Linked DNA regions of Homo sapiens: regions 1, 2, 3, 4, 5 and 6 are each linked to region 7. Evidence: promoter capture Hi-C in 16 types of primary human blood cells and fetal thymus (Javierre and others, 2016). All regions are on one chromosome and are shown on one strand. The core of a region is centred on a gene start or on the middle of the fragment in contact, and the rest is flanking DNA. Distances in the headings are between cores, read along the strand shown.

What was found. The method cuts DNA at HindIII sites, captures the fragments that hold promoters and counts their contacts. A CHiCAGO score of 5 or more calls a contact.
Region 1: a contact is called between a fragment that was not itself captured here and the fragment with the promoter of MAT2B in region 7, in 1 of 17 cell types (total CD8 T cells). The highest score is 7.0, in total CD8 T cells.
Region 2: a contact is called between the fragment with the promoter of NPM1 here and the fragment with the promoter of MAT2B in region 7, in 3 of 17 cell types (total CD8 T cells, total CD4 T cells and naive CD8 T cells). The highest score is 8.2, in total CD8 T cells.
Region 3: the fragment with the promoter of DOCK2 here is called in contact with the fragment with the promoter of MAT2B in region 7 in 8 of 17 cell types (non-activated CD4 T cells, naive CD8 T cells, fetal thymus and 5 more); the score reaches 21.4 in non-activated CD4 T cells.
Region 4: a contact is called between the fragment with the promoter of ITK here and the fragment with the promoter of MAT2B in region 7, in 1 of 17 cell types (total CD4 T cells). The highest score is 5.6, in total CD4 T cells.
Region 5: a contact is called between the fragment with the promoter of MED7 here and the fragment with the promoter of MAT2B in region 7, in 8 of 17 cell types (fetal thymus, naive CD8 T cells, total CD8 T cells and 5 more). The highest score is 15.5, in fetal thymus.
Region 6: the fragment with the promoter of CLINT1 here is called in contact with the fragment with the promoter of MAT2B in region 7 in 1 of 17 cell types (activated CD4 T cells); the score reaches 8.7 in activated CD4 T cells.

What each region holds. Positions count from the first base shown.
Region 1 is chr5:169,586,983-169,589,682 of GRCh38, reverse strand. SPDL1 (spindle apparatus coiled-coil protein 1) reads right to left here. Exons shown (of 12, transcript NM_017785.5): 2 at 1,108-1,289. The coding sequence starts at 1,266. Among named protein-coding and RNA genes, the nearest start is that of SPDL1, 4.6 kb to the right of the region's middle. The HindIII fragment of the contact is 258 bases long and covers 1,322-1,579 here.
Region 2 is chr5:171,386,552-171,389,251 of GRCh38, reverse strand. It overlaps NPM1 (nucleophosmin 1), which reads right to left and starts at 1,403. Exons shown (of 11, transcript NM_002520.7): 1 at 1,246-1,403. The coding sequence starts at 1,303. It overlaps MIR3912 (microRNA 3912), which reads left to right and starts at 2,492; the gene lies at 2,492-2,596. RefSeq lists silencers at 683-742, 1,063-1,122. The HindIII fragment of the contact is 7,200 bases long and covers 1-2,621 here.
Region 3 is chr5:169,635,915-169,638,614 of GRCh38, reverse strand. It overlaps DOCK2 (dedicator of cytokinesis 2), which reads right to left and starts at 1,340. Exons shown (of 52, transcript NM_004946.3): 1 at 1,246-1,340. The coding sequence starts at 1,288. RefSeq lists an enhancer at 543-642 and silencers at 903-962, 993-1,472. The HindIII fragment of the contact is 983 bases long and covers 745-1,727 here.
Region 4 is chr5:157,179,453-157,182,152 of GRCh38, reverse strand. ITK (IL2 inducible T cell kinase) reads right to left here and starts at 1,313. Exons shown (of 17, transcript NM_005546.4): 1 at 1,038-1,313. The coding sequence starts at 1,175. The HindIII fragment of the contact is 39,229 bases long and covers 1-2,700 here.
Region 5 is chr5:157,141,573-157,144,272 of GRCh38, reverse strand. MED7 (mediator complex subunit 7) reads left to right here and starts at 1,408. Exons shown (of 2, transcript NM_004270.5): 1 at 1,408-1,453. RefSeq lists enhancers at 781-880, 1,691-1,740. The HindIII fragment of the contact is 9,177 bases long and covers 1-2,700 here.
Region 6 is chr5:157,857,773-157,860,472 of GRCh38, reverse strand. CLINT1 (clathrin interactor 1) reads left to right here and starts at 1,328. Exons shown (of 12, transcript NM_014666.4): 1 at 1,328-1,543. The coding sequence starts at 1,503. RefSeq lists enhancers at 1,040-1,279, 1,117-1,698. The HindIII fragment of the contact is 1,599 bases long and covers 1,162-2,700 here.
Region 7 is chr5:163,504,237-163,506,936 of GRCh38, reverse strand. It overlaps MAT2B (methionine adenosyltransferase 2 non-catalytic beta subunit), which reads right to left and starts at 1,318. Exons shown (of 7, transcript NM_013283.5): 1 at 1,188-1,318. The coding sequence starts at 1,250. RefSeq lists a silencer at 1,002-1,141 and enhancers at 1,312-1,431, 1,472-1,561, 779-1,585. The HindIII fragment of the contact is 7,455 bases long and covers 155-2,700 here.

The DNA.
Region 1 (2,700 bases), core at 201-2,700, 6.1 Mb before region 7:
GGGCAACTTTACATTACATAGTAAGGGCTGACCTCTCCGCTGAAGTGACATTTAAATGAAAGCTGAAATCTGAGGACTCAACCCAAGAGCAGTGAGGGGTAAACAACTCAAAAAAAAAAAAAAGGCAATAGCTGGTGTAAAGCCCATAAGGGAGGACCAGTATAGTCAAGAACAAGGCAAAGCAGTTTGAGGTGAGGTCAGAAGCTTGGCAGGGGTCAGGTCACATAGGGATCTACAAACCCAAGGATGGAGCTCAGATTTTGTTGTAAATAAAATCAGAAGCTGTTGTATGGTTTTTAGCAGGGCTGTGGCATGACCTTTGGTGTGTTATTCCACGACCACTTAGACGCTGAGTGAAGAATGAATGGCATGAATGGCAACAATGGAAGCAGGCAACCCGGCCAGAAGGCTACAATACTTGTCTAGGAGTGATGATGGTGATCTGGACTACAGTGCCAGTAGCAAAGATACATGCTTTGTAGTCTAGTTCTTAGAACTTATTAATGAGTGAAATGTGAGAAATAAAGGGAAGATATTGACTAAAAGTTCTAGATTTTTGGTATATAAAGAAACCAAAAATATACCAAAAATCTTTGGTATATAAAGATTTTTGGTGTTCAAGAAACTGAATGCTATTATATTTACTAAATAAGCTAAAAAAAATCGTAAAAGAATATTTGGTTAACGGACAGGGAATCCACTCTTCTGTCTGTGTTAAGTTTGAGAAGTCTATTAGTGGGCAGTTGAACACAAACCTAGATTTCATGGGGGAACTAAGGGCTTGGTGTAGTGTCATGGGGCACTTAGATGTTTAGAGGTCTAAAACAAGTGAGGTCTTCTAGGAAGTGTGCAGACAAAGCAAAATCTGGTAGTAAATGTGGCAAAGAGAGTAATGATAACTTGATCTTTCAAACTCTGAATACACTAGGGTGGAAAGAATAACAGGAATTCATTTAGTTCATTCTTTTTTAACAGGGACGGGGCAGGGCGGGAACTAGATCTAAAATCTTCAGAAAAGAATAAACTACTACTACTATTAATTGCTAAACAGGACAAATCTTCAATAGCTAAGCACACTCTTGCAGACAGAGGAGTCCAGAGTCCTACCTCAGTCATGGTCATCATTTCATTACGACATTTATCCAATTGATTCTGTAATTCATTTTGACTCTCTACTAGTTGTAAACCATACTGTGCAGCTTTTAGTCGCTCTTCTTCAGCCTCTTTGAGCCTGCATCGAAGATTTGTGATTATATCTGCCTCCATGTTCTTTTCTTTTTTTTAGCCAACTGTAAATAGAGGAAATAAAACTACTTAAGCTTATACAAAAAACTCCATGCAATAATATCAATAACAGAAGAAACATATCTACTCAATACTACTGTCGTATAAAAACATTAAAATTTTCTTCCTGACTAATAAGTAGTCAAATTTGCATTCTTGTTCCAAGAGCAAGAACTGTTCTGACAATTCTGTTACTGATTTGGGATCAAAAATTAAAGAGTGGAATAGAATACATTTAATTTTGCTTCTAAACAGTTCACCATCAGAAAACTGTTCAGTTGTTGTATGCTAAGCTTCCAATATGTTAAGGTAAGTTTGGTCTCATAATTGGACCACTATCCATATAATCAAAATTAAGGGAATAACAAAAAAGTAATCAAGAAACCTCATAGTAGCAGGTATGGTGGCTCATGCTTGTAATCCCAGCAACTGGGGAGGATTACTTGAGGCCAGGAATTCGAGACCAGCCTGAACAACATAGCAAGACTCCATCTCAATCAATCAATCAATAGAAATAAGGTGGGGATGGTGGCAAGCCCCCGTAGTCCTAGCTACTTGGGAGGCTAAGGAAGGAAAATTGATGGAGTTAGAGGCTTCAGTGAGTTATGATCATGGCACTGACAGAGCAAGACACTGTCTTGAGAAATAATAATGATAATAACAATAATACCACCAGAAAAGGAAGGTCTGGGTACTATAAACACATAAAATATAAAAAGGCAGCTGTGAATAAGGCTCATAAGGTAAAGTAAGAAATATCATGTCTGTAATTTTTCACAACAGTGTTAACTTCCTGAATATATTAAATCTGCTTTCCTGGAAAGAGATTCACTAGTATTTTTCTAGTTATTCATAAAAGTATGCAAAAATAGAAACCATATCCATAAGAATTAAAGGATGTTGCTTTCATTCTAGATTTATAAACAAAGACTTAAACATTATATATAGAAACATTCCACTTTAATCAACCTTACTAATTATCCTTTACTATTTGGTCCCAGCCTCCTAAGCGAGACTCAAACTCACCTTTGCCTTCAAAGGGCACCAGGTCATTGCAAGATGTTCCCCCATGTCTCAAGTCAATGTAGTCATTCACTGAACGAGTATTTCTTGAATGCCTTATATACTAGGTTCCATTCTGGGCAGTTCAGATTCATTAGGGAACAAAATGGACGAAAAAAAAGCTCCTCCCTCATGAAACTTACATTCCAGGAGGGGAAGATAAACAGTAAGTAACAGAATATTAATAAATTAGAAAGGGGAGATGAGAAAAAATAGAACAGAATAAGAATCTGGGAAGAAGGGACAGGTGATGTAACCAGGAGGCAGAAGATGAGAGAATCAGCCAGGCAGCTATTTAGAAGAAGAATGTTCCAGCAAGAGGGGAATCCTTAAGGCAGGAAGAAGCCCAGGGAG
Region 2 (2,700 bases), core at 154-2,653, 7.9 Mb before region 7:
AGCACGGATAATGAACAAGATAAAATTCACGGTAGGATTTGCATTTACTTCAAAGTCTGAATAGTACAAAGATTAGGCTTCTGCAATTAATCCTACTGAGATCAAAAACCCAAGTGGGACTCTCCTTTTTGGGGCAGGACTACCGCAAGTCGAGGGGGGTGGTGCTCCCAAAATTCTGCGAATAGTCTTAGGTCTTGATCTGACTCAAACCGAACACTCTACGTGTTTCTTGTATTTAGAAAAGCAGTTTGGTCAATGCCGCACAAATGGCGGCATGCGAGGACGTCCCCCTAAAACGAAGCCTCATTAATATTCACGAAGCAGCAGCTACGGAGTCAAGCGTCTTGGTTTAGATTTAGTCTCTTATTGCCTTTACTAAGTACAACCTTCGTTAAGTGAGTTTATCTCTGGGCACCAGTATCCTCATCTGCAAAGTGGGGCTAGCTCCACCTACCGCAGTGAGACAGAAAAGGGGCTCAAAAAAATGAGAGCTGCCATCACAGTACATGCTGTAAGCACTGAACAAAGACCTCCAGAACCCTAGTGCTACCAGCCTCTTAACATTTCCCACTTCAACAGAGCCACAGCATCCCTGGCTCACGAGTGGCAACACGCCGGTGAGTCCCGGATGTAGCGCCCACACCCCCCTCCCTCCCCCAACCACGTGGCAACCACGTGCTCCCAGCGGTTGCGGCCTCCTCACGCCGCGCCGCGCCTCCCCACCCCCAGTAACTGGCCGAAGCACGCGAGGTAAGTCTACGTCCGGCAGCTCCAGGCTCTGAGGCCAGAATAACGCCAGGCTGTGCATCTACCCGCTCCAACAAGCAGGCCCATGCTTCCCGGTGAACCCAGCCTCCAGGACCACCAACCCGGGGCCTGGCATCAGAAGCCTATGAACCACCGCCGTTAGAAAATAAACCACGCCTGGAGCTCCGCCACGTATCCCCGGCAAAGGCCGAACTTCCAGGCGGCCGGTTCCACTTTACCTCAGGCCCCGGGCCTCGGACCGCTCACGCCCCAGACGCTTCAGGCCGCTCGTCTCCTCCCCCTTCACGCCACCGGCTCCCCCCGCGGCTCCAATCCCTCCAGGTCCAGGGCTCAGGCAGCTCTTCCCACCCGCTCAGGCCTCCCGTCGGTCTGGCGGTCTCCACCAGACCCGGTTGCAGCCGGATTCCCGCCCCTCACCCCCACCCTCACCGCCACCAGGCCCCGCTCGGCCTCGCTCCAGCTCCCCCCAGCAGTTACCGAAAAGATAGTTCTGGGGCCTCAGGGGGCTCATGTCCATGTCCATCGAATCTTCCATCGGGTGGCGGCACGCACTTAGGTAGGAGAGAAGGCGGACGGAGATAAAAGAACGCTGCTCCAGAGAACAACCGCGCAGGACGGAATCACACCAGGGAAAGGACGCAGGCTCCCCGCGCTTATATATAGACCCTGAAGATCTCGCGAGCGCTTCCCAAGTCCCGCCTCCGCGCGCGTGCTCCGAAGCCCTCCCACCCCCGTACCGTAGCCGTCCTGCGCAAGCGCTTTTCAACCCCACTCCTTTCTACCTCGCCCCCACCTCCTTCCAGGTACTCCGCGGGCTCCCACCGAGCACGCGCACTCGTACACTGGCCCCACCCCTCCGCTGCTGTCGCCTGTGCGCACGCGTGCTTTCCAGTCGTAACGCGCACTCCCCACCTCCAACCCTTCCACGTCCTCTCCCGCTCAAGCGCGCCGGCCTCCCGCCAAGAGTCTGCGCAGCCCACCCTGCAAAATGGCGTCGGCAGCCCTTAGCTGTGTAAGATATGGCGGGTTAGCCGGCTGCGAATGAGCCAGAGAGCACCTCGATTCACCTTTCCCCATCCCCTAGTGCCCTGCAAGCCTCCAAACAGGCGTAATCACTTCAGGAATTTTTTACTTGCCTGAAGGCTTCGGATCGCAGTTAATCGTTACCCCAAAGTTCAGGTGCCAGAGAGAGTGAATTGCGGCTTATTCTTTGTTAGGAAGGAAAGATGTAGTTACCGGCCAGACTTACGGAACTTTGTTTTTCAGCTCTGTCCTTCCTGAGAAAACATCTCCAAAGTCCTTATCTTTACGTAACTTGGGGGCCAAAAGGGGACTGAATCAGTCTCCAAATTAGCAAGGACATCGCCCTAAGAGAGCTCGGAGGGTGGGCCGACTCTGACTTCTTGCCGCTCTTAATCTTTAACATTCCTCCTGAAAGAAAGCGGGTGACTTGTAAGAACTACAGAAGCCTTAATTCGAATATTTGGGAGCGAGCATGGGAATTAACGTTTTAAGCTACACCTTGACAAACTCCGAGGCACCCCAGCACCCCGCGGGCATTGGGGCGTTCTGAAGACCCGTAATCTTTTTTTTTTAAGCCTCAACATATCAAACAAATTTAAGAAGTGAGGAATACAAATGATAGCCTCAGAAAGGAAGACACCCCCACCCCAAGGCATTATTTCTTACAGGAAAATTATAGAGACGATTTCAGTGTCTATCAAGAGAGGAATGAACAGTTAAATTATAACATGTCCATATTATGGGTTAGTTGTGGACACATACTAACGCATAATATGGACATGTTATAATTTAACTGTTCCTTTCTGAGAGCTCCTGTGTCACATAAAGCTTTGAGTCACTTAAATTTGTTATGCCTTTTTTTGTGTGTGTGTGGAGACAGAGTCTCGCTGTGTTGTCCAGGCTGGAGTG
Region 3 (2,700 bases), core at 91-2,590, 6.1 Mb before region 7:
ACTCTTATTGAGCCAGCACACTACTAAATGCTTTCCATGCATAACCCCATTCAATCCTCACAAGAGTCTCATGAGACCTGCATTATTATTACTTCCACTTTATAGACGAGGAAACAGACCCTGATTTGAACTCAGTTCTGACTTCCCAGTCCAAGCCTCTAGCCTTACACATAACTCCTCAAGGGCAGAAGCTGTATCCTTCCTTACTTTGTAACTGCCCCTTGAGATATGAATTATTATTTGTTCTCTGGATGGGGACCATTTATATCAAAATGACCCCACAGTGCCCGGTACCCAGTAATTGAGTGGATAACTGCTGATCTCTCCAGGGCAGTGTTTCCCAAACAGTGGCCTGGGGACCCCCTGCATCAAATCCCTCTGGGTGTTTGGGTCTTCCAATGCCTCACCTGCGAAATATTTATCTCTGAGATGGTGTCTGGTATCCGCCTGTGTAGGAAGCTCCAGAGTGACTTTTTATTTGATATTTAAGTTTAAAAACCACAGTGAGTCCATGGAGATTGCACCACGGATGACACTTAGAGTAGCAGCACCTGAGGCCTCCCTTCCCCCAGCCACCACTTCCGCCCCTGAGCTCCAGGCAGAGGCTTCTGGGAGTTTAGATGGCTGAGGCTGACGAAGCTAGCTTCTTGGTTACCCTAAGACCACCTGGCGGGAGCCTTTTTCCCCAGAGGCTCTGGGGGGCTGAGTAGAGAACCCCACCGTCCAGCCCCATTCCCCCAAGCTTGAGCTGCCCTCTGGATGCCCTGCCAAATCAGGAGTCATCTGACCCAGGAGGAACAGACAGGGGAAGCAGGCAAATGGGTGTCGCTTTGGAGGGGGTGGAAGTATGCATGGTGGGCAGGCCAAGGCTGAGCCAGGGGAGAGTGGAGCTCCCTCTACAAGGCCAAGTCTCCCACGCGGCGAGCTGGGGCACTCCTGGGGACGCCGAGTTTGGCGCGAAGAACTGAGTTGTCAAGCGCAGGTCTTGACCCTATCTCGGAAATGTCTAAGGTTCCCTCAGCAGGCGAGAGGGCGAGGGCTGTGCTTAGCCTGCGGGGTGGGGTCCCGCCGTCCTCTCCCCGAGCCTCGGCTTTCCCGCCCCGAGGCCCCGCCGCAGGCTGCGCCCTCTGACCTGCAGGCAGCGCGCCCTGCCCACCCCGCGCCGCCGGCCCCGCAGCATCCTCCTGCTCGCGGCTCTCCCGCCACCTGTCCCGCTCCCTGCCGCGCCCTGGGGCCCGCACCTACCCACGCCGTGCCGCTCCTTGTCAGCTTTGCGCCAGGGGGCCATGGCTGGGCCGGGGCCTCGCGTCCTCCCGTGGGGAAGCCGTCAGGGGGTGGCTGGGCGCCGCAGGGCCCCACTTCCTTCCTCTTTTCAAACTCCTCTCAGGGCCCGCCCTCTCCTCCCTCGCCGGGGCTCCCCGCTCCCTCCTCCCTCCCGTTGGGCAGGGGCACACTAGAAGGCTGGTGCCCCGTAGGCTAAGACACGCCACCCCACCCCACTTCACGCAAAACTTGGGGACCACTCCCACTTTGTCTCCTCCCCAGGCGAGGGAGCAGAGGCCAGTCCCCACCTGGGGCTCGCCAGACCACCACCGCAAGTGCAGAGAGTTTCCTGATTGCCGTGCCTAGGGACTGAACAAACCTCCTTAACTCCCCTCAGCATGAGCTTTGGTGTCAGATCTCGGTTCGAATCCAGACGGGGACAAATGACTTCATTTTTCTAAGCTTCAGTTTTCTCATCTGTGAAATGGGATACTAATACCTACTTCATATGATTATTGTGAGGGTTAGAGAGACAATGTACACAGCAGGTGACATGGAAGAGTAAATGTTTACCTGGAGGTGGATCCTTTACAGCCTTTTTTTTTTTTTTTTGTGAGACGGAGTTTCGAGTTTCTCTCTTGCTGCCCAGGCTGGAGTGCAACGACGCGATCGCGGCTCACCGCGACCTCCGCCTCCCGAGTTCAAGCGACTCTCCTGTCTCAGCCTTCCCAGTAGCTGGGATTACAGGCATGCACCAGCATGCCCGGCTAACTTTGCATTTTCAGTAGAAACGTGGTTTCTCCATGTTGGTCATGCTGGTCTCGAACTCCCCACCTCAGGTGATCCGCCAGCCTCAGCCTCCCAAAGTGCTGGGATTACAGGTGTGAGCCACCGTGCCTGGCCCATTTACAGCTTTTTATCGTTTTGGTGCTACAAACCCGTTGGAAAATCTGATGTAAGCTCTAGAAGCTCTACTCTGAAAATACGTAAATACACTATTTACCAACATCACTGCAAGGTGAAGGGTGCTGTCACAGCCAGCAACAGTGGGACCCAGGAAAAGAGCCCTAGAGTTAGGCTAATGGAGACATTTCCTCGAAAAATCTCATTTTTGCTCTGAGAACAGATTCTGTCCAAAAAAAAAAAAAAAAAGTCTGATCCACAGTGATAAGGCTGAATTTAAGTTTTGCTGAGTTTTCTTTCTTTATTCATGACTCTCACTACCCCTTTCTGCCTTACACTGGAGAGTCATTAAGATAGATTAGGCAATATCACAGCTGAACTGGAGCAACAAAAAATTATTGATTTTGTTTTATCTGCAGTTATTTTCTTTTCTGTTTTCTAGCAGCACAAATTAGGTAATAATGTCTTATACAGTCAGCAGTGGTATTAGGGTTCCACCAGATGACCAGAGTAGGAGATTTTATATATATGCAT
Region 4 (2,700 bases), core at 64-2,563, 6.3 Mb after region 7:
AAAAATAATATAACCATACAGTAAGAAATCAAACATGCTTTGAAAAATTGCAGCATAGGGCTAAACAAGAGCCACTGCATAAAGCAAAGAAGTTTTGAAGAAGAAAGGGATCTTGAAGGTTGTTATTTCCAGTTTTTTCATTTTATGAAGAAAGAACCTGAAACAGGAGGTAGACATTTGCCCAGACTGGATCACCTACTGAGAAGTAGAGTTTGGTCTCCTGACCCTTTGTCCAATGCTTTTTCTACCAAACTACATTATTAGGATTATTCCTGTTGCTTTTGTTATTAGTGATGTTAAGAAGCACAAGACTATTTTTAGATAAAGAGATAGACTGACCTAGCAAAGCAGCCATACTCCTTCTGGGTAAGAACCGCTGGTCTGCACTGCAGAAACTTTGTTCTTAATAACCCTGGTGTCCTAAGAAGTCTATCAAGAGATGAAGAGGTTTGCCATTGTGCCTTACAACTTTTAGATAATTAAATGCCTGGGAAATCTTATTTCAAGATCAGGCTAGCGACGAGTATTGAGACAAACAGAGTTATTCATGAAAACGTTAACACTGAACCCAAAACTTAACCATTCTAAACACCAGTTTCTTCCACTAAAAAATAAGAAAGCTGGGGTAGATCATCCCATTGAATGCTAGTGTTGTATTAATCTATGTTTCATTAAATTTAGTATGTTTCATTAAATTTAGTATGTTTCATAGAAAGTTCAAGTTTTATCGAATCATAATACTTGCTACCTAAAATGTTATTCATAATTTAAAAACCAAACATAACCTTGCAGGGGGAAAAAGCTGATGAATGTTAAATTTACAGTTTTTAGAACTGAAATCACCTAGCACCACCATTTCACCTCTTGACTGCTCTCTGCATTCTCCTCTGATTACTTTTACTGTACTTTTTATGTTGTTACAATAAGCATGTTTGTGTTTCCTGTGCTCTATTTTATGCTATGTATATATTTTTGCATTAGCCCAGTCCAAACATAAAATGCTATGCGAAAAAAGACAAATGAAACTGCTCACATACCCCATGACGATCTTCAAAGTATGCCAGGCTGGCTTTGGTTAACACAAAGAAGCGGACTTTAAAGTTCGAGGGAGAAGTTCTTCTCTTTTGTTGGGATTTCTTGATGAGCTGTTCTTCCAGGAGGATAAAGTTGTTCATGATCCAGTTCTTGAAAGGTGGTGCACCTTGGGCATCACCTCTTAGCACAACCAAAGGAAAGAGTTTTGGGGCAAAGAATGCAATGTGGAGGCAGTTGATCTTCAGAGAGCTGCTCAAGGGCAACTTGCCTTCAACGTTATCTTTCTATCAACGTTCAGCCAACATAGCTGAGCTTCTCCTCTGATGTCAAAGGCCGAAACCACATCCTTTCAAAATTCACAAAACGAGGAGGCATATGTAAAAAATACATACAGCCTTTGCTAATGGCTTGAAATGATATTTGAAAAACTGTAAACTCAAAATTGTGGTAAGGATTACAGTTTAATCTTTATAGTTCCTGGTTTAATCCATCCAGCAGTTAAATCATGTAGCACAAGGAGTAAGGACAATGTGTGGTTTTGCTTACCATGATATACTCAGCAACCATCACAGTACCTGACACATAAAACAGATGTTCAAGAAAAATTTGTTGAATGGATCATCACCAAATTGGGTTGGACAATTAAAAGAGGTAATGAGCACAAAACCCTCACACATTAAAGTGAAGAAATATGTTGCTGAAGTTTATTAGTTTTTAAGATTTAAATTAAAGCCCATAGAAATTTCTCAATGCTACATATAGATGACTGCCTTTCTGTCCTGACGTTTTGTGGAAGAGTGAAAAATAAGTGAATCCTTCAGAATGGCATAATAAACAAAGTATATGTGGGCTTTGAAAACAGACAAACTTGTGTTGGATTCCCAGCTCTGTCACTTACTATGCTGTTTCTCTTTGAGCAAGCCATGACTTCTCTGATCCTTAGCTTCCTTGTGAGGGTCCTTTGGAGGACTGAATCCCATACATCTTATGAATGGTAGGTGCTAGTCATACATGTCACCTTAGAGTTAGTACATAGTTGAAGTATAATGTGTGACAGTTACCTCTACTATGTTAATAATCAAGAGATTTTAGTGTAAGCAGATATTGCATGTAGTGGGTAGGGATAAATAATAAATGAAATAATAATTATTGCTGTATAGGAGTGAAATTCTCCAATGTTTATTTTTAAATGTAAATTACCAGACAACAGCCTAATTTTATTTCATATACTGGATGCCCCAGCATAATCAAGACACCCAGGAGGGTACGGTACTGGTATATTTTAAATTACCTCCCCCATTCTGAGATTCTTAAGACATATGTGTGGAAATACACTGCCCAAACAAGATAGTATTTTTTTTTTCTGAGTATGGGCTTGAGGTAGGGATTGCTACTATTCCCAAATAGCTACTCTCTCCTTCTTACTAGAGTAACAGAATCCCTGACAGTTATCTGGGCATCTGGCCAGCAAGAATAAAGACTACAAATTTTAGCCTCCCTTGTAGCTAGGTGTAGTTGTATGACTGTCTTCTGGTCAACTGAATGTAGCAGAAGTCGTGTGCACAACTTCTAGGAAATTTCCTTAGTGGGATCTGTCATCCCCTTTTCTTTCCCTTTTCCTCCTGCCTTGTGACTAGAATATTGAGGTAACAGTTGGAGCTGAAG
Region 5 (2,700 bases), core at 159-2,658, 6.4 Mb after region 7:
GAGTGATAAGACCGGTCTTATATTTTAAGAAGGTGTGGTAAATAGACTAAGGGAGGACAAAAAATCAAAGAAGTCCAGGTGAGAGATAATGGTGGCATGGCATAGGACCATAGCAGTGGGAACGGTGGTCAGTCATATTTGGAACTTTATTTACTTATTTTTAAATAGATCTAATGCAAAAGGCTGGTATGGTAGTTTCGGTGGGGTATGTGAGAAAGGAGAAAAAGGTGATTCCTTCGATTGAACATTTGCAATTGAGTAAAGTGCAACTGGGGAAAGATGTCTGTCACCACTGGATATGAGGGTCTGAAGTGCAGAGGAAACGGTGTTCCAGGGCCTGCATGTAATCATCCAGCTGATATCTGACTGAGAAGTGGTTGGAGAACTGAGTCCTGGGGCAATCCATTAATCAAATGTGCCAAATGCTGCTGACAGATGGAGTAAAATGAGGACTGGGAACGACCATTGGAAGTCACTGGTGCAGGATACATTGGGGTCAGCGGTGAGGAGAAAAGCTGGATTGGGTTATGCTCAACGTAGATGGATTTCTTCAGGAAATAAATTGATACGTGCGAGGGATTTAAAATGGGGGAGTCCGGAAGTGGTGGTTCACGCCTACAATCCCAGCACTTTGGGTGGCCGAGGCGGGCGGATCACTTCATATCAAGAGCTCGAGATGAGCCTCGCCAACACGGTGAAACCCTGTCTCTACCAAAAATACAAAAAAAAGAAAAAAAAATAGGTGAAACCCCAACTATTCGGGAGGCTGAGGCACGAGAATCGCTTGAATCCCGGAGACTGAAGTTGCAGCGAGCCGAAATCGCGCCACTGCAGTCCAGCCTGGGCGAAAGAGAAAGACTCCGTCTCAAAGAAAAAAACAACAAAAAAACCCTGCATGTCTATATTTTCGAATTTGTATGTAAGACGTCTTAATTGTATGCGTTAAATTAAAAAAGGACAAAAGGAATGGAACTACCAGCAGCGACTAAGTCAGTAAAAGAGTGGTAATGGGGAAGGGGGTGGAATATACGCAGGCGCAATAGCAAGCGTTTCTTTTGGAGGTTATTTTCGTGTCATAAATTTCTAAATTCACGTTAAGTCTTACAAGAGCATGTTAAACATTAAAACATAAGATTGTTTCTGGTCAATAAGGGGTCTATAAAAAATAAAGCAATAAGGTGTCTTGTTCAATTTTATGCCTTAATTCAAAAAGAAACGAAGAAACGGAACCCTCAGCTACGACTTTTAAAAGTCAGTAACGGGTGGATGGGAGGAGTCAAACATACGTAGGCGCAACAGCGAGGGATCGGTCTGAGGCGGAGCTAGAATTTCGTTAAAGGACAGCTCTTACAGCCAATCAAGGACAGAGTCGGTGGCTTCTTCCCGGAGGAGACCGGAAGTTGGTTTCGGCTGCAGAGGGGAAGGCGGCTACCAGTGTAAAGCCAGAGCTGAGGTAAGTGGGCGGCAACGGTTTGGGGCCGCCGCCTGTGTGCGTTTTTTTCTTCCGGACCCCGCAGCTTCCTCTGTGCTGGGCTGGGAACTGGGGAGGCATGGCTGAGTTCGGCCTCCAAAGGCGGTCTTTCGTCTTTCTCTCCCGAGTCTCTCCGAGAGTGCGGTCTCTCCGAGAGCGCGGAGGCCTCGGGGTGGACAGCCTGGAGGAGGGGGCTCTAAGCGTGGCAGTCTCGGGGCTTCCTCCGTGTTGGGACGCCGAGCCGGAGTGGAGGTTGGGAGACCTGGCGTCTAGTCCCCGCGCCGCTGTTTTTCTAAGCTGTGTGGCCTTGGGCGAGTCATTTGCCCTCTCCGGCTCTTTGTAACATGAGAGTAGCCCTCCCTGCCCTTCCTTCTTCTGGGAGCAGTTATGAAACAGCTGAGGTATGGGGGCAGGCGAGGGCGGTAGATCCCAAGCCTAATCGTCAGGTCCATCTGGAGAGGTTTTAAAAGCGACATTCTAGGGCCCATTCACAGTAGACAGAATGAATCAAATCTCTGGGGCTGGGACCCTGGAATGTCTGTCGTCTTCTGGTGAAGCTCCTTCTCCCCCAGTAGAACAAACACTAGATGTTGGATCTTGAGTTAAGAACCAGCTCTGATGCTTGGCTCTGCTTTTATTAAAAATAAGACCTCCATCACCTTTGAAAAGTTCCATCTAGAGAGACAGTAGAGAAAGAAATATAATTTTTGTGATATGCCAGTCCTTATTGTACAGTTAGATGCTTCTCGGCTTAGGGATATAAGAGAGCTTGCCCTTTGGAGCTAAAGGGACCTGGGATAAGAATTCCTGTTGTGCCATTTATTAACCTTTTGATCTGGGGCAACACTTCCCCTCATTGAGACTTCGGATCCTCACTTCTAAAATGAAATTGATAATAGAACTTAATTCGTGGGACCGTGTGGTGGCTCACGCCTGTAATCCCAGCACTTTGGGAGGCCGAGGTGGGCGGATCACTTGAGGTCAGGAGTTCCAGACCAGCCTGGCCAACATGGTGAAAACCTGTCTTTACCGAGAAATACAAAAATTAGCTGGGCGTGGTGGTGCGCACCTGTAGTCCCCAGCTACTCAGGAGGCTCAGGCAGGAGAATCCCTTGAACCCGGGAGGCAGAGGTTGCAGTGAGCCCTGATGGTACCACTGCACTCCAGCCTGGGAGACAGATTGAGCCCTTGTCTCAAAAAACAAAACTAACAACAAAAACCCCAAAAAC
Region 6 (2,700 bases), core at 79-2,578, 5.6 Mb after region 7:
GATTGGCCTTTTAAGACGTCTTTTCAGGCTTTTGCATTTCTGACAAACGGATGACCCCACCCAGACCAGCCACTCCTCTGCTGGCCCTCCATCAAGAAGCCGATTCAGCAAAGGAGAACCATTTTCCATACTCCTCTGATTGCATCCCTAACCAATCAGCAGCACCCATGCCCTAACCCTCTGCTCACCAAACTATCTTTGAAAAACTCTAGCTTCCAAATGTTCAGGAAGATTGATTTGAGTAATAACTCTGTCTCTCAAGTGGCATGGCCAGCCTCATGTCAAACTCTTCACTGCAATGACTTGGTCGCAGTGAATTGACTTTATCTGTAAAGTGGGCAGAAAGAACCCGCTAAGCAATTACACTATATGCAATTATCTTAAATGTTTCCTTGATTATTATATGTTTCTTCCAATTACGTTTGAATTCCAAGAGAGCTGGGTCTTTAACTATATTCCCCACTTCTGGAACATACAAGATGCTCAATAAATATTTGTAGAATGAAAAGAACTGTAAAATTTCAGCAGATGGATCAAATGAAACTTAAGGTTGCTTGTAGCTTTAACATGAGCATTGATAAAAATGAGTAAGTAGAGAAGGAAGTGATGACAACCATTGCAACAAAGCAATGGAAGCAATGTGCATATTTATCCTTAAAAAACACAAACCTGTCATATGTATGTGTATGTGTGCGTGTATATATAATGTTGGCTTTTTAGTTTCCCGTGGAGTGTGAACTGAGTTTCTGAGGTTTATAGTAAAGCATTTAACAAGGATTTCAGGTAGTTGTCTAAATATAAAACATTGTATCATAGAATTAGAGCGGAAAAGGATTTAGAATACAAGTTCTTCAATTTTACAGGGGTGGAAACTAAGGCCTAGAGATCTAAGTGTACTTGGGCATTGGGAAATAAATACAGCGATGTGTCTGTCGATGAGGAATGCGTATGCCAATCATACTTCTGTATAATCATTACTAATAACATAGTAATACTGCCTTACATTTGAAAAGTGTTTGAGTGTGACTAGACCCTGCACCAGTGGTTCTGAAACTTGAGCGTGATCAGAATCACCTAGAGGATTTGTAAAAGCACAGATCGCTGGGCCCCACCTCCAAAATTTCTGGCTCGGTAGGTCTGGGGCCGGGGACTGGGAAAGCTTAAGAGAAACCATCCCAACTCCTCTCAGCTCTCCCAACTCAACCTCTCAGCTCTCCCAACTCAACCGGCCGAGCTCGGCACTCAGGGAAAACTACAAGTCCCGGCGTGCCCCGCGCGCAGCGGCGGAAAGTCGGACACTTCCGCTCCACGCAGCGCCTGTGCTGCCGCGTCTCGACGTGTCACCGGCGGCGCCGCTGCTGTGGCAAAGGAAGGAGCTGACTGGGGGAGTTCGAGGCGGCGGGCGGCGGTGACCCCGGCCTGGAACTGCCCCGGTACGGAAGTGTTCCGGGGTCCGTGGGGAGCAGGAGAGGGAGGCGGCGGACCGTCCCGCGCGGGGCACGATGTTGAACATGTGGAAGGTGCGCGAGCTGGTGGACAAAGCGTGAGTATCGGGGGGCAGTTGTGGCCGAGGCCCACGTGGGGGAGGGGGGAGGGGGAGAAGGAGCTGGCCTTGGGCTAGGGGTTGCCCACGTCACGCCCCCTGGCTCTGCCAGCCCCATCATGGCGGCGGCCCGCTCCTTCCCGGCCCCGGGCCTCATCCCCGCTGGCGAGGCTGGGGAGGGACCCTCCCTCGTTTTAAAAAAAAACATCCTCTTGGCCACCCTTCTCTCCTTTCCAGGCCTTCCCGTCCCTTCCCCTATTCCAACCCCTGGGTGCCGACGCTTTGGTCATAAGGGGCGGGTTGTTTGGCGCTGGGTCACTGCCCTGGCCGGAGGACTGTCTTGGCCCCAGGCCGTGGGCTTTGCCTCCTGGGGAGCAGGGAAGGTTTGGGGGTGGGGGGCACAATGCACTGGTTCCCTGTGTCCCTCAAGGTGTAGTACGGAGAGACCTTAGACCTGGTTGGGGTGTGTCTTTTATCTTCCTTGCCTCCTCTTAATTCCTAATGAACCTGAAGTGTTGGAGTGGGTGGTAGTAGTGTAACAAGTGGCTATTGTGGTCAGCCTGAAGTTACTCAAGAAGACACTCATCCTTTGCTTTTCTAACACTAGTGAAAGTAGATCACTATATGACTTCTTGCGATTTTTTCTTCTGTTTCTTTTTCCACTACACATCATTTTTGGTGTGCTACTTGTTCCATTCGATTAAATTAAGAGGTCATTAAGAAATGTCCTCTTAAGGAAAAAAACAACCCAGGTTTATATCCTGTTGATCTGCTTTTAAAAGCAGGTAAAACGACCAGTACGTAGTTGATTTCCTTTAAGACTGAAATAACTTTAGTCTCTTACTTGCACAAGGAAAACCTTAACTTTTAAAATGAGTATATCAGGTATAACAGTGGTTAAGTAAGGTCTTCTAGGCCAGCAGGAAATAAAGTTTAAGAATTTAAGCAGTCCTCTTCCTTTGGGGCTTTAATGATTATGCAATAAGTGTGGTGAGAAAAACAGTTGATTTGTGCCACCCACCTAACCTAAAATCAGGAAGTATAGATAGCAAACTGTTTTCTTGACACCAGGAAACAAAGTAATTTCCAGTGCCTTGTCTGATACATCAGATAGAACTTAGAGCTTGACCATATTTTTATATTTTCTGTGCTACCAA
Region 7 (2,700 bases), core at 69-2,568:
CTCGTTCTCATGAGTCAGTAAGCTTTAATTCTACAGGTTTTGAGAGCAGTAAGTCTGTGCCAAGCTCTTCGTTGTTTCATTTTTAATGAAGGAAAACACGAAAAGCTATTTTCATTTTTATACTGAACTTCTTTTTGTGAAAGTAGATTAAGCTTTATATGCACACGTACACATACAAATGCATACATATAAATGTAAACGTATGTAACATGCACTCAGCACGGTCTGGAGGACCTAGGAACATAGAGGTTTAATAGACCATTTATCCTAACTTTACCCTCAAAGAACCAAAGTGATTTGAAAACCCTAAGTAAATTTGGAAGCATGAAAACTTTGCAATAACAGAAACAGCCATCTCCTATATTCTCTACTCTCTCCAAAAGACATGGTCTGGGCATTAGTAGTGTTCTTATCCCCAGGGTTGGATATGTTCTGTGGACAGATTAATGCTGGAGGCCCTTAAGTGGAATGGAGCAGGATGGGACGGGGGCGAGGGGGGCACCAGAGATGGATCTTCCAATCATCACCATAATCTTCCTTCAGGGAAACTCCGTAGTGGTTCAAAGCCCAAGACAGTCACACAAACCTGTATCTGAATTCCAGGCTCCAACCTTACGGAATGAACCTGGGCCAATGTCTCACCCTCTATGCCCGTTTTCTCGTCTACAAAATGAGGCAATAACAAGTATCTCACAGTGGAGGATTAAAGTAATGCCCGTCAAGTGCATAACATAGTGCTGAGAACTTAAGAGTTCAATAAGTTGTCATCTCCAGCACTGTTATTTGTGAGAAGTCACCTTTTCCTGTTCTTTCTCAAACCTACGAACTTGTAAGATCGAGAAATACGAACCAAAGATGAATAAACGGGGAAAACCAAAATCAAAACAAACAATTCTGAAAAACCTCTTCGTCCTCAGGAGCAGAGACAGAACTCGAAAGTAAAACCTCCACCTACTTGCTTCCTGCCGCAGTGGCTGGAAGAAAAAAACACTGACCCGTGTGCGCTGAGATAAACAAACTCGGTGGCGCCCCCCTCGGATCCGGGGCTGGGAGGGTGGCGGTGAGACCACTCCCGGCCGGAGGCTCTGACCCGGGCGGAATACGCCTGCAAAGCCGCCCGAGCCCCGGTGGCTCGTCCCCCTCGGCGCCCCCGCTCCCACCGGAGACGCCCAGGCCGACTCCCTCACCTCCACCAGCCGACAGCTCCCGGGAACAAAGTGTATAGAGAGCTCTTTCTCCCGCCCCACCATGCCCGCCGTCTTCACGCCGCAGCCTCAGCGGCCGCCACCTCCTCCAACCCAGGATCGACGCGGGCCTCAGCTCAGACGCCCTCGGCCCGCCTCCCCTAGGCCCAGAACGACCCCGCTCGCCGCTTCCGGCTTCCGCTGCCATAGCCGCGCCCGTTGATTGGCCACGCTCCGCCGACGCCCCAGAAAGAGGGCGGGTACGCGCGGTCTGCCCCCAGCCCACGCGCCGATGCTTAAAGCGACACACAAAAGAAAGGCCCTGACCTTAGGCAGTGAATTCAGGTTTTGTTTCGGAGATTTTATTTGAGTGCTTTTTATTCTACTTTTTTTCCTTTTTTTCTTGACTCGGGAAAAGATTGAAGTGGATCGCCTTGAGTTTCAAGTTTGCAGACTGCGCAGTGCATGAGGATCGACTGAGCAATATAAAAAGTGGAATAAAAAGCATTTTAAAGTCATGGGGGCGGGGGCGGAGGTGGGTAGAGCATAATGGACACATCTCTAGAGCTCTAGGTGGGGGTTTTGAAAGATTTAGAAAAAGACAAGGAATAAAAATAAAAGGGTTGGCGTCTGAGCCATTTGTCTTCCTGGGATGCTTAAAAAAAGAAAAAACCTGTGTGTGAGATATCAAAAATGTAAAACTATTTTTAACTAATTAAAAATAAAAAGTTGTAGGGGGAAGGAAGATGAACTACTTAGGTACCTCTTCAAAACGCAGATCCTTGGACTTTACCCATAATTACAGAACAAGAAACGAGCCCGGGGTCCGACTTCTTAATGGGTTTAACCAGAATCAAGCCCACTCTTTAAGAAACACCGCCTCGGGGATTGCAGGATTGGGCCACACGAGCCCAGCCTTGGTGAGCACCGAGAATTTAAGCAGCAGCGTGTAAGGCTGGGCGTTCTACCACCTTTTAAAAGTTAAGCAGCCCTAAGTGCTGATGCCGACTTATTTCCCTTCCAGTTAAAAACCGCAAAAAATCCTCAGCCAGGCTGGACGCCTGTGAAATTGATGCAGAAAGTAAACCCTGGCACAGGCCGTGTAGGATTTGCCAACTTTGCACCGAACAGTCCAAGGGTTCTTGTGTGCCCAGGATAGCAAGCTCTAAACGTCGTCCACAAACGTGACCACTGTCTGGATTTTCCTAGGGCCTTTCCCCGACTCCTAAACCTTTTTGGTTTATTTTCAAACTAAAGACTAAGCAGCCTTTTAAAGAAGTTTTCCACGTCAGAACACCATGACTTTCCTTCCTCCTCAACCCCCAACAAAAACTCATTTCCTTATTCGTGTAAACATAAAGTTTCTCTAGAACAGTAATCGAAGACAGCCTGAGGTTTCTTATGTTCCGATTTTTTTTTTTTTTAAACACAGGCTATTACTGTTCATTAGTTTGGCTTTATTTAGGGAATCCTTGAGGACTGCCCCAGCGCTAAACAAGCATAATCAGGGGACAAC